2 separate regions of the Homo sapiens genome follow, and region 1 is linked to region 2. The links are contacts of gene promoters, found by promoter capture Hi-C in blood cells and fetal thymus (Javierre and others, 2016). All regions are on one chromosome and are shown on one strand. The core of a region is centred on a gene start or on the middle of the fragment in contact, and the rest is flanking DNA. Distances in the headings are between cores, read along the strand shown.

Region 1 (6,650 bases), core at 4,151-6,650, 220 kb before region 2:
TCAGACAAATAAAGCCACCTAGGCTGAGGGATACCCCTCACTCCTTCACTCCATATCACCAAGTGAGGAGAGGGCTAGTCCCTTTCCCCAGTGCCCCTTCCCCTGCCAAGGGTGAGCAGCTGCATACTAGAACCAGGCAGAATGTTTTGGGCAGCCACCCTCGTCGCCGCCTTCCAAGAAGCTCCTAGTCTAGCCACAGAGTCAGAAGGGGAAGCTTGGGCTCAGTCCCTCCTGCCAGCTCCTCCTCTTCTGGGTCTTCTAGGCAGTGGGATCTGGCCTGCCCCCTCAGACCAGAAGGGTTGTGGAGAAGCAGGAACAATAAGCCGAGGCTTGGAGGAGACAGAGCAGATCTGATAAACAGGAAAAACGATGTTCAAAACCTGGGGAGGAGGGTGTTTCTTCTTTGCTTATCTTAGCGGAGAACTCTTCTCACCTTCTACCGACACAAAACCCTAGAAACAAACCTTCTTTAGTTCTCTCTCAAGGCGATTCGGAGACATTTACCCAACCCTCCCCGGAGAGAAGGGGTCGAAGCAACGCAGGGGTTAACTTTTCTGAAAACACAATTAACTTTTTCCAATCCTGCGTGGGGTGGGGGAGAGACATATTTATTTAATCACCCGGGAGTGGGGTGGTCTCAATCTAAACGTTCCCTCCTCCCTCAAAGGCACTGAGCCTGTTTCACAGATCCTACGTAGGTGGAACAGGACGCGTTGTGTTGTTGGGGGGAGAGAGGAGAAAGGCGAAGGAGAAGGAGGAAAAAAAAAAAGGTTGATAGGTTTGTGCGCGGGTCCCTCGTGCGGGCTGCGCTCCTCCTGGGTGCTATTTGACAATTCCTGCCTCTGCCATTGGTCAGTGTTGGATCAGATGGTTGTATTTCCTTCTGGCCCTCACTGGCACCTCGCCATCCCCCCTCAGCTAAAACCCAATCTCGGATATACTACTAATAGGCGCGGCGCTCGGACTATAAAACACAACAAATCATAAACCCGGCGGAGCAGCAGCGGCCGCGCGCGCCTCCCCTCCCAATGAGTTCCTATTTCGTGAACTCCACCTTCCCCGTCACTCTGGCCAGCGGGCAGGAGTCCTTCCTGGGCCAGCTACCGCTCTATTCGTCGGGCTATGCGGACCCGCTGAGACATTACCCCGCGCCCTACGGGCCAGGGCCGGGCCAGGACAAGGGCTTTGCCACTTCCTCCTATTACCCGCCGGCGGGCGGTGGCTACGGCCGAGCGGCGCCCTGCGACTACGGGCCGGCGCCGGCCTTCTACCGCGAGAAAGAGTCGGCCTGCGCACTCTCCGGCGCCGACGAGCAGCCCCCGTTCCACCCCGAGCCGCGGAAGTCGGACTGCGCGCAGGACAAGAGCGTGTTCGGCGAGACAGAAGAGCAGAAGTGCTCCACTCCGGTCTACCCGTGGATGCAGCGGATGAATTCGTGCAACAGTGAGTGAGACTTCCCGTCGCCGTCGCCCCGGCTCCCCTGGGCGCCCACCCCGGGACACAGAACTAGTGAGCGCCCCCTGCCCCAATCTCCCACAGGGTGCTGGGTGGGCATCTCAGTTAGGAGATAGAAGAAGATTGGGCGCCGGCCGGGGGTCTCTCGCTGTGTCCCCTATTAGGCAGGAGTTACAAAGTTTGCAAAGTCCCAGCCGCACTGGGAGCCATGGGGAGCAAGTGTGCTCTCCTGGGGCGCCTGGCCAGAGCCGGGGTTCCAGGACAGGGAAGGGAGCAGGAGCCTGCAGTCACTGGCTTGGCTTTACTTTGAGCCCCCAACCCCCCTCTCCCAGCCCTGGTAGGGTTCCCCAACCAAAGACGGCTCCATTAAAAACGGAGTGCGTCATGCAAGGGGGTAGGGGGTGACGCTGAAGAGAAAGAGTTGAGTCTGTCTGGGACTGTGTTTCCCTGTGGGTGGGGAGCTGGGGCAAGATGAGGCACCAGGAAAGGGGTGGTAGTCAGAGGAGGGAGGAGGAATAAGGGGAAGGAAGAGAGAGGGAGCAGGCGGAGCGAGAGAGGGAGAAACAGGCGCGGGGTCTCAGGTTGGATTATTTGTTGGCCTTAAGTCCCAACTGATGTCCATTAGCCGGACTCGAAAGTGAGGAGCCGTTAATGTGGACTATGGATCGATCTACGTCATTACGGATTAACGGCCTGGATTTATCATTGGGTTGGGGGGATGACGGGGGGTGGGAACAAGATGGATGGAAAGGGAGGGAAAGACAAGATGCAACTAGGAAGAGACACACCTGACCAGCCCCTCCCCCCAGGCTCAGGTGGGAGTTCAAACTGCTCCTCCCCTCCCCCATCTAGAGTCTAGACAGACGGCACAGGCCTAGGAGACTAGGAGGGAATCTGGAGGGGGCGCTGGAGGAGTGCGAAACGGGGGAAGGGAGCCGGCAGAATAGAGGGCATCCCGGTACTGGCTGGAGTCTGTGTTCGAGGGTCGACTAGGGGAGGGGGTCCTGGGCCCGGTGACCGCAGGCCTCAGCATCTCCACTCTGCGTAACAGGTTCCTCCTTTGGGCCCAGCGGCCGGCGAGGCCGCCAGACATACACACGTTACCAGACGCTGGAGCTGGAGAAGGAGTTTCACTACAATCGCTACCTGACGCGGCGGCGGCGCATCGAGATCGCGCACGCCCTGTGCCTGACGGAGAGGCAGATCAAGATATGGTTCCAGAACCGACGCATGAAGTGGAAAAAGGAGAGCAAACTGCTCAGCGCGTCTCAGCTCAGTGCCGAGGAGGAGGAAGAAAAACAGGCCGAGTGAAGGTGCTGGAAAGGGAGGGAGGACGCGAGGGGAAAGGCCTGTGGGGAGCCGAGGGCGTCAGAGAGACCCGGGAAGGAAGGCTCTCGGGTGGGGGAGCCAGGAGACCTGCTCTCCGGCGCAGACAGGCGGGGCCCAGCGCTCTCCTGGACGCCCCCGCCCGCACAGCTCCCGGCGGGTGCTCTGAGGCCTCACTACTCGAGCCCACCCAGCATCCCGCGCGCCCTTCCTTCCCGAGGAACTCGCCTCAGCCTGATCAGGCTTCCTGGTGAGAACTGAGGAGCGGACTCACTTGATGTTTCCTGGAAGCAGAGCAAAATGCTCTTGTCCCTGTCGCGTCTCATTTTGTCCATGTCCCCCGTGCACGGTTCAATGGTAGATTCGCTGTCCCCTCAGCGGGGGCCTTGAAGACTCCCTGATCCCAGACCTGTCGTCTCTCCCACCCCCTCCCCAAAGCCACTGGAAGGAGCACATACTACCTAGAAGTAAGAAGAGGAGCCTCAGAAGAAAACAAAGTTCTATTTTATTAATTTTCTATGTGTTGTGTTTGTAGTCTTGTCTTAGCTCTGGACGTGAAATACTTCGATGATGATGATGATGATGATGATGATAATAATAATAATAATAACAACAACAACAACAATAATAAAGATGTGAAAACTCGACGCTCGGTCACCTCCAATCCTCCCCTGCCATTTTTTCCTCTCTCCTCAACCCCCAGCCTCTCCATCTTTCCTGAGCCAGAATTCTTCAGCAAAGGCGAGAGCCCTGGCCCGCCGAAGCGAGCCCTGTTCGACTGGGAAGTTACAGCTGAGATAAAGGCTGGAGCGATCAGTCCTGCCCAGGCCCCAGCGCTGCGTTTCCCTGGTGCTGAGGCTCACAGCCGCTTCTCCCCGTGCAGACTTGGGGGATGGAGAGGTGCTGTGTCCCTCTCATTCTCTAGCCTTTCCTCGTGTATACACAGCACTAAGGGAGCCACTGAGGCCCCTAAAGCTCTCTGGCGGAGACGGAGCCATAGTCTGGGGGCCTCTGCAGCGCTTTTCTGTCCTCACCTTCGCAGCGACCCCTGGTCTTTGGCCCGTCCACATGGCCAGGTTTTTTCGCCAGCCTTGGCCCTCCGCTCCTGGCCTGTGGCTCTGGAGACTGAAAAATGGGGCCACTGGGTATCTCTCACCCTGCAGCTGAAGGCTCCAGGTGCCCCTTCCCACCTCAAGTAGCAGATCAGCCTCAAGTAGGAGATCAGCCTCAAGTAGGGGAATGTAAAGCCACCAGCCAGGCACAGGCCGAAGGCCACAACTTTCCCTTGCTCCTTGGAGACCCCAGGGCAGGAGGCCAGGTGATGGGGCTTTTAGTGTCATCCTCTCAACCCAGAATGGCTCATTCTCTCTCTGCTTGCACCGGCACCCAGAAGGCAAGCTGCGGTCACTGTTTTCCTTTATTCCTCCGCCCTCTCGCTTCCTTTCTTATTTTTAAAGAAAATAGTCCCCTCCTAATAGGAGACCAGCTGCGGCGGTCTCTGGCCGCCCAGCGTGCTCAGCAAAGCATGCGGGTCCTTGGAACCCCTTTTCCGGGAAGGCGGCTGCCACCAGGCAAATTCTCAAACTGCCTAGCTGCGAGTGAGGGACCTGTAGTGGGGCCTCCGAATGCAATAGCCGAGGAGGAGGGGAAGGGATCCCGCTTTACAAACTCTCAGACACATGTTACTACTCAAACTAAGCAGCAGACGCGGTGGCCGCTGCAGTCTTTTCGGCAACTAGGCCGCTTAGCCCCAGCTGTGCTCGGTTTCTGGGGTCCCTGTCCTGCTCTGTCACTCCCCACGCCTGGGCTAAGGACCACCAAGGAGGTCCGGAAGGGGATTTCGAACTTCCAAGTGGCCCAGGAGAAGTGAACGCTTCTCCTTCTTTTTCAAGCCTCCCGCCCAGCCCTGCCGGCTCGGCCTGGGCGCTGTGGACCGGTAACAGCAGTTCCACCAGGATGCAGGCCGGACTAAGCTCCTGGGGAAAACCCGTTGCAATAATTGTTTTTCACACACAACTTCCAACCCTTCCCCCATTTCCGCCTCCAATTCGGAGACTTGCAAAGCCCAAGAAAGGGAAAAGCAACTCTATCTTTGATCTTCTCATCCAAAGTTAAAATAATAACGACAATGATGATGTAGGGAGAAAGAACCAAATAGAGAGGCTAACCCCACCCACAAGAAAGTGGGTAAAAAGCCCAACCCCTGCTCTAAAAGGCTCAACCCTGTGGCTGAGCCTTGGCCGGGTTTCTTTCTCTCCCGGCGACTGCAGGGAGCCTGCAGGGAGCCAGCAGGGAGGCAGCCGCCCGCCGCCATGGCGGTCTCACGCCCGCGCTCCCGTCGGTCGCCGGGAGGTGGCGCGCTCTGCTCAGAGGCCAAAGCCAACCTTCTCTCTGTTTCTCCCCCTTCTCCTTTTTTCCCCCTCTCTCGGAGGCTCGCATTGAATCGGCCCTAACGATTCTCGGATCGTCATTATTTGTAACCATAGAGCATGAATTACCTCTTGAGGTCATCAGCGAGAATTTACGACTGGTCAACAAAAGCACGTGATTCCCTAACGCCCCCCACCCCCCTTCCAACCCCCCCCCCATATTTGGCCGCATACATAGCAAAACGAAGTACAGTGCATCGCTATAATTCATTAATACATCATAAATCGTGAAGCACAGGGTTATAACGACCACGATCCACAAATCAAGCCCTCCAAAATCACCCAAATGAGCTCGTACTTTGTAAACTCCTTCTCGGGGCGTTATCCAAATGGCCCGGACTATCAGTTGCTAAATTATGGCAGTGGCAGCTCTCTGAGCGGCTCTTACAGGGATCCCGCTGCCATGCACACCGGCTCTTACGGCTACAATTACAATGGGATGGACCTCAGCGTCAACCGCTCCTCGGCCTCCTCCAGCCACTTTGGGGCGGTGGGCGAGAGCTCGCGCGCCTTCCCCGCGCCCGCCCAGGAGCCCCGCTTCAGGCAAGCGGCTTCGAGCTGCTCCCTGTCCTCGCCCGAGTCCCTGCCCTGCACCAACGGCGACAGCCACGGCGCCAAGCCCTCTGCTTCGTCCCCCTCCGACCAGGCGACCTCAGCCAGCTCCAGCGCCAATTTCACCGAAATAGACGAGGCCAGCGCGTCCTCGGAGCCTGAGGAAGCGGCAAGCCAGCTAAGCAGCCCCAGCCTAGCTCGGGCGCAGCCAGAGCCCATGGCCACCTCCACAGCCGCGCCCGAGGGGCAGACTCCGCAAATATTCCCCTGGATGAGGAAGCTTCACATCAGCCATGGTAATTCTCTCTCTCTTTTTTGTCTTCTCGGCTTTCCTTCTCTGCGTTTTGGGGTGGGATCGGGGGGACAAGGAGAGCTTGGCTTTACCCTAAATATAGATTCATTTTTCTAAGGGGGAGAAGTATCTAAGAGGGGCCTCATAGCTTCGTAGACAGAGCCAAAAAGGGTCTCTCTGTTAAGAGGGGGGTATTTTTAATAATTTGTTTCCAGCTTCGGCTTAGGTTTTTATTAGCGCAGCTGAACCAGCTTTAGGATAAAGGATGGGGTTCATATAATGTGGGGAAGGGTCCTGCTTACCCCTGAAATTTTGAGACTGTCGCTAGCAAAGAAGGGGTGAACAGTAAAAGGAGCTTTCCGGGGCAAAAGTGCAACCGCTCTCCTCCCTCCCGGGGCGAGCGGCCGCCTGAGCCCAGCCAAGGGTGAGGCACTAGGAGCGAGCAAGAGACAAAGCCGGGCGCACTGGCTGCCTGCAGAAGTGGGGGATGCAGTAGAAAGGGGTGCAGAAATCGAGCTTGAATGTGGGCATCTGGAGTAGAGAGGATTGGAGCTGTGGTGAGCTGGGTGCCGGGACGCCTGGGTCCTGCTCCCCCG
Region 2 (6,908 bases), core at 3,275-5,774:
ACATAAAAGTGCCTAACACAAACATGTCACATAGTGGATAGCCAACAAATATTCCCAAGAAATTTATAACCTCATGGGAAAGATAAAAAAATCCTGCACAAATAACTGTAATTCAAGATATATTGTGGCAAGGTTTTAGAAGAGGCCATATTTTATTTTATTTTCCAGTTTTATTGAGGTATACAAAACACTGCACATACATAATACTGTAAAAGCCCAGAGAAGGAAATCCCTTCTGGTGGGCTTGAGAAGCCTTCATGGATGAGTTGGCATCATGACTTGGCCGTGGGGTGAATGGGATAGGTTTTTGGTAAGACACATTGCATGCAGAAATACCATGTGCTAAGACACAGAGGTGATAAAGTTTAGGCATTTTTGGGAACCAAAGGGTGATTCTGTTGATTAGGTAAAAGAGAGTAATGGGAGGTATGGCTGAAAAGACAAAATGGAACCAACTCCTGGAAATAAGAGTTTTGATTGGGTTTGAAGAGGACAGATAGGTAGTTTGGAAGAGTAAAGCATGAGGCAGTGATAGGTAAGCTGAGGAGGGATGCTTTAGTAGTGGATAACATTTGGGTCTTTGGCACAAGGGCTGAGGCCACTGGAAGGCAGAAAATGGTTGCAAAGAAAGAGCATAAGAATGTCAAAGGTTGCCTATGTTCCCTGTACCCAGAGAAGGAAGACAAATCTCCTTTGCCATACTTGATTTTATTTTTCAGTATCATTGGGTATAATTTGTATACAAAGCACTGTAAATAAGGAATGCATACAATTTGGTGCCCTAACCACTTTTCAGAATGTTATGTCAATGGGAAAATACATTCTATGGATATATGCTTCAACTTTCGAAATATGATTGGTCTGAAAATTAAAGACTGTATTCACAAATTTTCAGATCTGTTAACAAGATTTAATAGATTTTCAAAGCTGGCCCAGACAACTTTCAACTTTGTTTCATTAGGAAAATGTATTCCAAGGTCCAAACAACTGGAAATGAACTTTTAGAATACAGTCAATACTTGAATTGAGAGCTGCCTGTCTAGAATTTCCTTAATGGGCAACCACTGGTAAATATCTGTTTCCTTTATCGTATTTTCCAAAACTGCCCCATCATCAGGTTTTTTAACAAAAACCTGGGGATTTTGTTAAAATATATAGATTTCTAGGCCCCTACCCTGGAGATGCTAATTCACTAGGTCTGGGGTGGACCCTGAGAATTTGTGCTTCAATAAAAGGTCCAAGGGATTCTTAAGATCAGGAAAGTGTGTACAAATCTTTATCAGAATACCCTGTTTTTTGTTTTTTGTTTTTGAGGTAAGTGACTATTTTGGTTCTCAACTGAATTTTAACAATGAAGGGAAAATCTTTCCAGCAGGGCTTAAGAACTGTCAGTAGCTGACAACATTTCAGCCTGATTAGCTCCTGGGGTGAGGAGATGGGGATATGTTCATATGCTGCTCTGTGCTTCCTTGTGAACTGGCAACATCTCAAGATGTTTCTGATGCTGGAGAATCCCTCAAAGTGAGACAGAACTGAAAGCCCTGGTCCCAAGATGAGCCAGGTAAAGCCTGGGATTGACTGGTTGATTGTAATCGAAACTCTGAGGACCCCTGACCTGTACTGATATAGCCACAGAGCTGGTCACGTAGTCATTAGCTTTTAGATCAAAGTCCATTCCATTTTTTTATGGCTTGGATAATTGGGTACTTTATGTAAGGGTTTAATTATGACAAAGTAGTAAATGGGTAAGAATGATACTTTAGGCCGGGCACGGTGGCTCATGCCTGTAATCCCAGCACTTTGGGAGGCCAAGGCGGGCGGATGACGAGGTCAGGTGTTCGAGACCAGCCTGGCCAATACGGTGAAACTCCATCTCTACTAAAAATACAAAAGAATTAGCTGTGCATGGTGGCGGGCACCTGTAATCCCAGCTACTCAGGAGGCCGAGGCAGGAGAATTGCTTGAACCCGGGAGGCAGAGGTTGCAGTGAACTGAGATTATGCCACTGCACTCCAGCCTGGGCAACAGAGTAAGACTCTGTCTCAAAAAAAAAAAAAAAAAGAAGAAGATACTTTAGTATAGAATCTTTACAATTAGGGAAAAAAATCAACTTGAGGGCAAAAGCAATAATCTGGATTAAGTAAAATGGTACGAATTTAGGAAAAGTGTGAAATAATTTTAAAATGATTTCTGGATTTCTGTATACATCTCAGTTCTTAAATAGAAGAAAGTGTACACATAAGGATAGGCATTTTATGAAAATGTCAGTAATTCATTGTAGTTCTTAGAGTGGTTACCAGTAGAAGCTGGCTTTCTAAATTCTGTTATTTATTGATTCACATTTTGGTGTAGTGTGAATGAGTGAAATAATGTTATATCTTTAATTAGGATTCTGTTGTTATTTTTCAATTAATCTATGTCAGTAACTTTAGCATTTGTATTAAATCATTTTCTTCATGAAAGCTTCTAATGAGGAAACAAATTGATTGTATTTATATATTGGATTCTTGCCACCGCAATGTGTATTCAGTCGTGTCTTTTGAAGTATATTTTTACTGGTCATTTTGTGGTTTGTCTTTGAAGCCAGGCTTTGGGGGAAAAAATTCTTCATTTGGATGAAGGTTTCAATTTAACAAAGCTTTCTTATTTTTGTCTCTCTTCTTTTTCATCCCTTACTTTGATTTTCTTTCTTTTTTCCCCTCTTGACTTTGTGTGAGTGATTTAGAGGAAAATGAAGGCACCCCAGCCCCACCTTTTTGGAATAAAATCCATACTTCATAGCATTGCCTGGAAGTGCCTTGCCCTTTGCCTGCCTCTCCAAGCTTGTCCCTACCCCTCCCTGAAATGCTCTCTTATACTGAATGAGTCTCATACTGAACTCAGACAGCCCTTCCTGCTTCTTACCTCCATTCGCTGATTTAGCAAACATTTATTGAGCACAAGCTCTATGCCACTGCCCCTTGAGGGCTCAGTGACAGAGAGACAAGAAGATGCTAATACAGTATTATAGGTGCTACTGAGAGGCATGCACAGATGTGCTGTGGGAACCCTAACATAGGACACTTAGCTGAGCCTCAAAGGATCATGGAGGGTCCGCTAGGAGAAGAAGGAGGCATGAAAGGAAAGGTTTGCTGGCAGAGGGTGCTTGAACAAGTAGGCAGGAGTGTGAACGGGAGCCGGGGAGGACCTGAGAGCTGAGGTGAGCCATGGAAGGATTTCAAGCAGGAGAATGATAGGACCAAGCTGGCCTTTTAGGTCATTAAGATAATGAAGGTGCTAATGACTAACAGCTGACATTTATTGGAGGTTTACCAGGTTCTTTACGTGCATTACCTCTGTTAGTCCTCCCAAGAACCAAATGAGGCAGATGTGGTTATTATTTCTGTTTTAAAGATGAGGAAACTAAGGCTGCAGCAAAAGTCTCAGCTAGAAGATGGAGGAGCTGGGACTTCAACCCAGACCTGTCTGCAAAGACTTTGCTCTTCATGCTCATTCCATTCCCTTTTTCATCAGCACTGAGGAGAGTAGGTCAAAGGGAGGAGGATGAGGGCAGATGGACCGTTTGCGATGTGGTTACATGGATGTGGGTGAGGCCTTTTGAAAGCTCAGATGAACTCAGTGTCTGCAGAGATGGAGAGGAGATTGATTAAAAGGTTATTAAGGGAGTAGAATCTACAGGTCTTGGTGACTAATGGGATATATATAGTAATAGAAAAAGAGGTATAGGGATGATTCCCAAGTTTCAGCTGGGTGGATAGTAATATCATCCATTGAAATAGGGAACACAGGGGTAGGAGAAGTTTGGGACCTGTGGGACAAAGGACAGTTCTACTCCTGAAAGAGAAGAGTAATGATATCTCCTGCTTTTGAATGTTTTAATGGACTAAAGTATTTAATATATGCAGGCACTATAGTGAAGTCTTTGGCAATTGGTTTCTTCTCTGGTCAGCCTGAGCTCTATTACCTATCCCTCTAGTCCTCTAGTCTTCTCTGATTCTCTTGTCTTTTCATCCCACAAGCCTAGAAAAATCCTAATCTTGGATCATCAGTTCAACTGTTCATCTTCTCTGTTTGTATATCTGGAAAGCTATTCAGTTCTGGAGAAAAATTGCACAATTGGATTGTGCCATAGTAAATGTTTTTATTTAATTTTTTTTTTTTTTTTTGAGACAGGGTCTTGCTCTGTCACCCATGCTGGAGTGTAGTGGCACAATCATGGTTCACTGCAGCCTCAACCTCCTGGGCTAAAGCAGTCCTCCCACCTCAGCCTCTTAGGTAGCTGGGACCACAGGTACAAGCCACTACACATGGCTAATTTTTTTTTTTATTTTTTCTAGAGATGGGGTCTCACAATGTTGCCCAGACTGGTCTGAAATTCCTGGACTCAAGTGATCTGCCCACCTTGGCCTCCTAAAATGCTGGAATTATAGGCATGAGTCTCCATCCTGGCTGCACTACAGTAAAGTTTAGTCTTCAACCTCAGTCGAACCCTTAGTGATAACTGGTAGTTATTTCACATGCTCCACATCAGCAACCTTTTTCCTTAATTTTTTTTCCTCCGCAAACCCTTGTCAGTCTTTACCTCATCATATTGCTTCTCACTCTTTCCATGACGTCACAGCCTACTTCACAAGAGAAAAGAGAGGCTCTCAGGTTGGAACCTACTCAGTATCCTACCCTGTCCCTTACTCAACATAACTGCTTTGGGGTGCTAGGCTGGTCCTTTGCCACCTTCTCTTCTTCTGGACCTGGCCCCTCTGCCTGACCTCCCTCTGCATCTTGGGCCTGGCCTCTCTGTGACCCGACCCTCCCCTTCCAGGCTTCTCTCTGATCTCGAATCCTCCCTTAGCAACTCTTATGTGCAGGCAGTAAGACATTCTGGCATTAGTCAGACATGGGTTCTTCTGGTCCCAGTTTTTACCATTTGCATGTTCTGGGCCAATTACATCACTTCTACACAATTTGATTATTTCGGCCAAACTGGTCCACAGTTGGGTTTTCTGTGCTCTTAGTCCCTCACAGAGTGTCTGGCAAATAGTGGAAATTTATTCATCTCTACTACTGAGAGAACAAATGCAGTATTCGTAACTTGAGATACAGAGACTGTGTTGGCATGTTAATGCTGAGATATCCACCTTGCCTAGATGAACTCTAATAACTAATCCAGCTTAAAAATTTTTTACATAACATTTGCCTTCAGGTGAATAATATGTCCATGTTCATAACAAGGAAAATATCAAAGGCATGATAGCCGAGTTTTTCCAAGGAGGTTTTAAATGTTTTTGTAGAAATTGTCTCATTTTTAAATGAATATCACATTTTTGAACTTGCCCCTGATTCTGTACAAGATAAACTGTGGTGGCCCCACAGTGTGGACTTTTAAACTCCTATGGTGCGATCAGATAACCTCTCCATGCTTCATTGTTCTCATCCGTAAAGTGAAGGCTAGAGTAAATGATTTTAAGTGTCCTTCCAGCTGTAAAATTCAGTGAGTATATGGGCCACAGTCACACATTCACTCAGCTACCAGTTATTCACTAATCAGATAATGGCGTCTCAGTGGTCGAAGAGTAGCTGTTAACCTGAAGCAAGCAAAAAATAAAACAAAATTAGGTTTTTAAGCGTCAACAGTGACAAAAATGACAGAGCAAGGGCCAAAGAGACAACAGTTTAGAATACAGTAATCAGCTGGAGTTATTTGTACATAAGCAGTACCTTGTTTTCTCCAATACACAAGTTTGGAACCGAAAGGCGTCTCTGACTTTCCTCTTGATGCTCTCCTCCTAGCCAGTCTCTAAGTCTGTTATCTAATGTCTTGTCTTTTCTCTTGCTCTCAAGTAGCTTCCTAAACTATCTCCCCACTTTTCTCCCTCCCATCCATGCTACACATCTCTGCTGGATTTGATGTGGACATCATTCTTTATCCTTAAAGACAAACAAACAAACAAAGAAACAGACCTTTCAATGACTCCTTTTTATTTACAGAAAAAAACCCTCCAACTCTGACCTGTTGTTTAGTGTTTTTATTTTGCCATAATGTATTTGGCTAGCATTTTTCCTTTATTAGTTCATCGAATTATAGTTTGTTGCCTATTACATGGAGGAAGTATGGGGATTGTGTAGACATACTAGTGAGATTTGCTGGTGAAAAAACAGTCCTCATGCTAGAAAGTAGGGGAAGGAATGTTAGAATGTGGGTTTCCAGTGTTGCAATCAGAAAGCTTAATCACTCACTGATCAAAAAGAGTTCTTAGGTTTCTTAATGTTTATACTCATGGTGGGTGTTTCATTGACCATAGCAATGATTCCATGTAGCAAAAGTGTTATAGGAGACTCTAGTGTTAAATAGTACTTTAATTTCTTTTCAAAATTTAATTTCTTTTTTGCTGTCCAGGAATGGACTTAAAAATTGTGGTGGGGGAGCAGGTGATGAGTTATACTGTCAATCTCAGATAATGTTGTTTATTATTTAATATAAGTTTGATTGTGATCATTGTATTTAGTAGGTAGGTGAACATTGTATTATCTACCTAGATGGGCTTGTAAATATAGACTCAAGACCACAGAAATATTACATCCCCCAAAAGAACCCGGGACCTTCTTGTGATATGTTCTTCTATTACATAATTGAGTTATATGCCTATTGTCTGTTGTTACAGTAGTATTTATCATATTAGATTGTCATCTCATTATATACAAAGAGCTAATATTTTGGACTAGATTGTAAGCTCCTTGTAGGTAGGCATTAGGTCTTGTACTTTTGGTGAGATTAAGGAATTGGGACTAGAAGGATCACCAGCTCTTCCACCAAAGACCTTCCTTTTGCTGCCCAGTTGTTTCTAAGGCTGGTACCTGGACCCCTGGGTCCCAGGCCTTGGATGCCTCCACTGGGGACTTCCACCAGATGG

The links. Contacts are between HindIII fragments. The CHiCAGO score rates a contact against its expected background, and 5 or more counts as called.
Region 1: the fragment with the promoter of HOXB5 here is called in contact with a fragment that was not itself captured in region 2 in 2 of 17 cell types (megakaryocytes and erythroblasts); the score reaches 7.6 in megakaryocytes.

Annotation. Positions count from the first base shown.
Region 1 is chr17:48,592,529-48,599,178 of GRCh38, reverse strand. It overlaps HOXB5 (homeobox B5), which reads left to right and starts at 5,400. Exons shown (of 2, transcript NM_002147.4): 1 at 5,400-6,058. The coding sequence starts at 5,497. All of the region lies in intron 1 of HOXB-AS3 (HOXB cluster antisense RNA 3), which reads right to left. HOXB6 (homeobox B6) reads left to right here. Exons shown (of 4, transcript NM_018952.5): 3 at 951-1,443; 4 at 2,507-3,428. The coding sequence starts at 1,029. The coding sequence ends at 2,766. RefSeq lists silencers at 1,080-1,179, 5,727-5,776 and enhancers at 1,410-1,459, 2,516-2,685, 4,457-4,962, 5,192-5,261, 4,963-5,470 and 1 more. The HindIII fragment of the contact is 5,828 bases long and covers 217-6,044 here.
Region 2 is chr17:48,374,836-48,381,743 of GRCh38, reverse strand. All of the region lies in intron 2 of SKAP1 (src kinase associated phosphoprotein 1), which reads left to right. Among named protein-coding and RNA genes, the nearest start is that of SKAP1, 52 kb to the left of the region's middle. The HindIII fragment of the contact is 3,399 bases long and covers 2,825-6,223 here.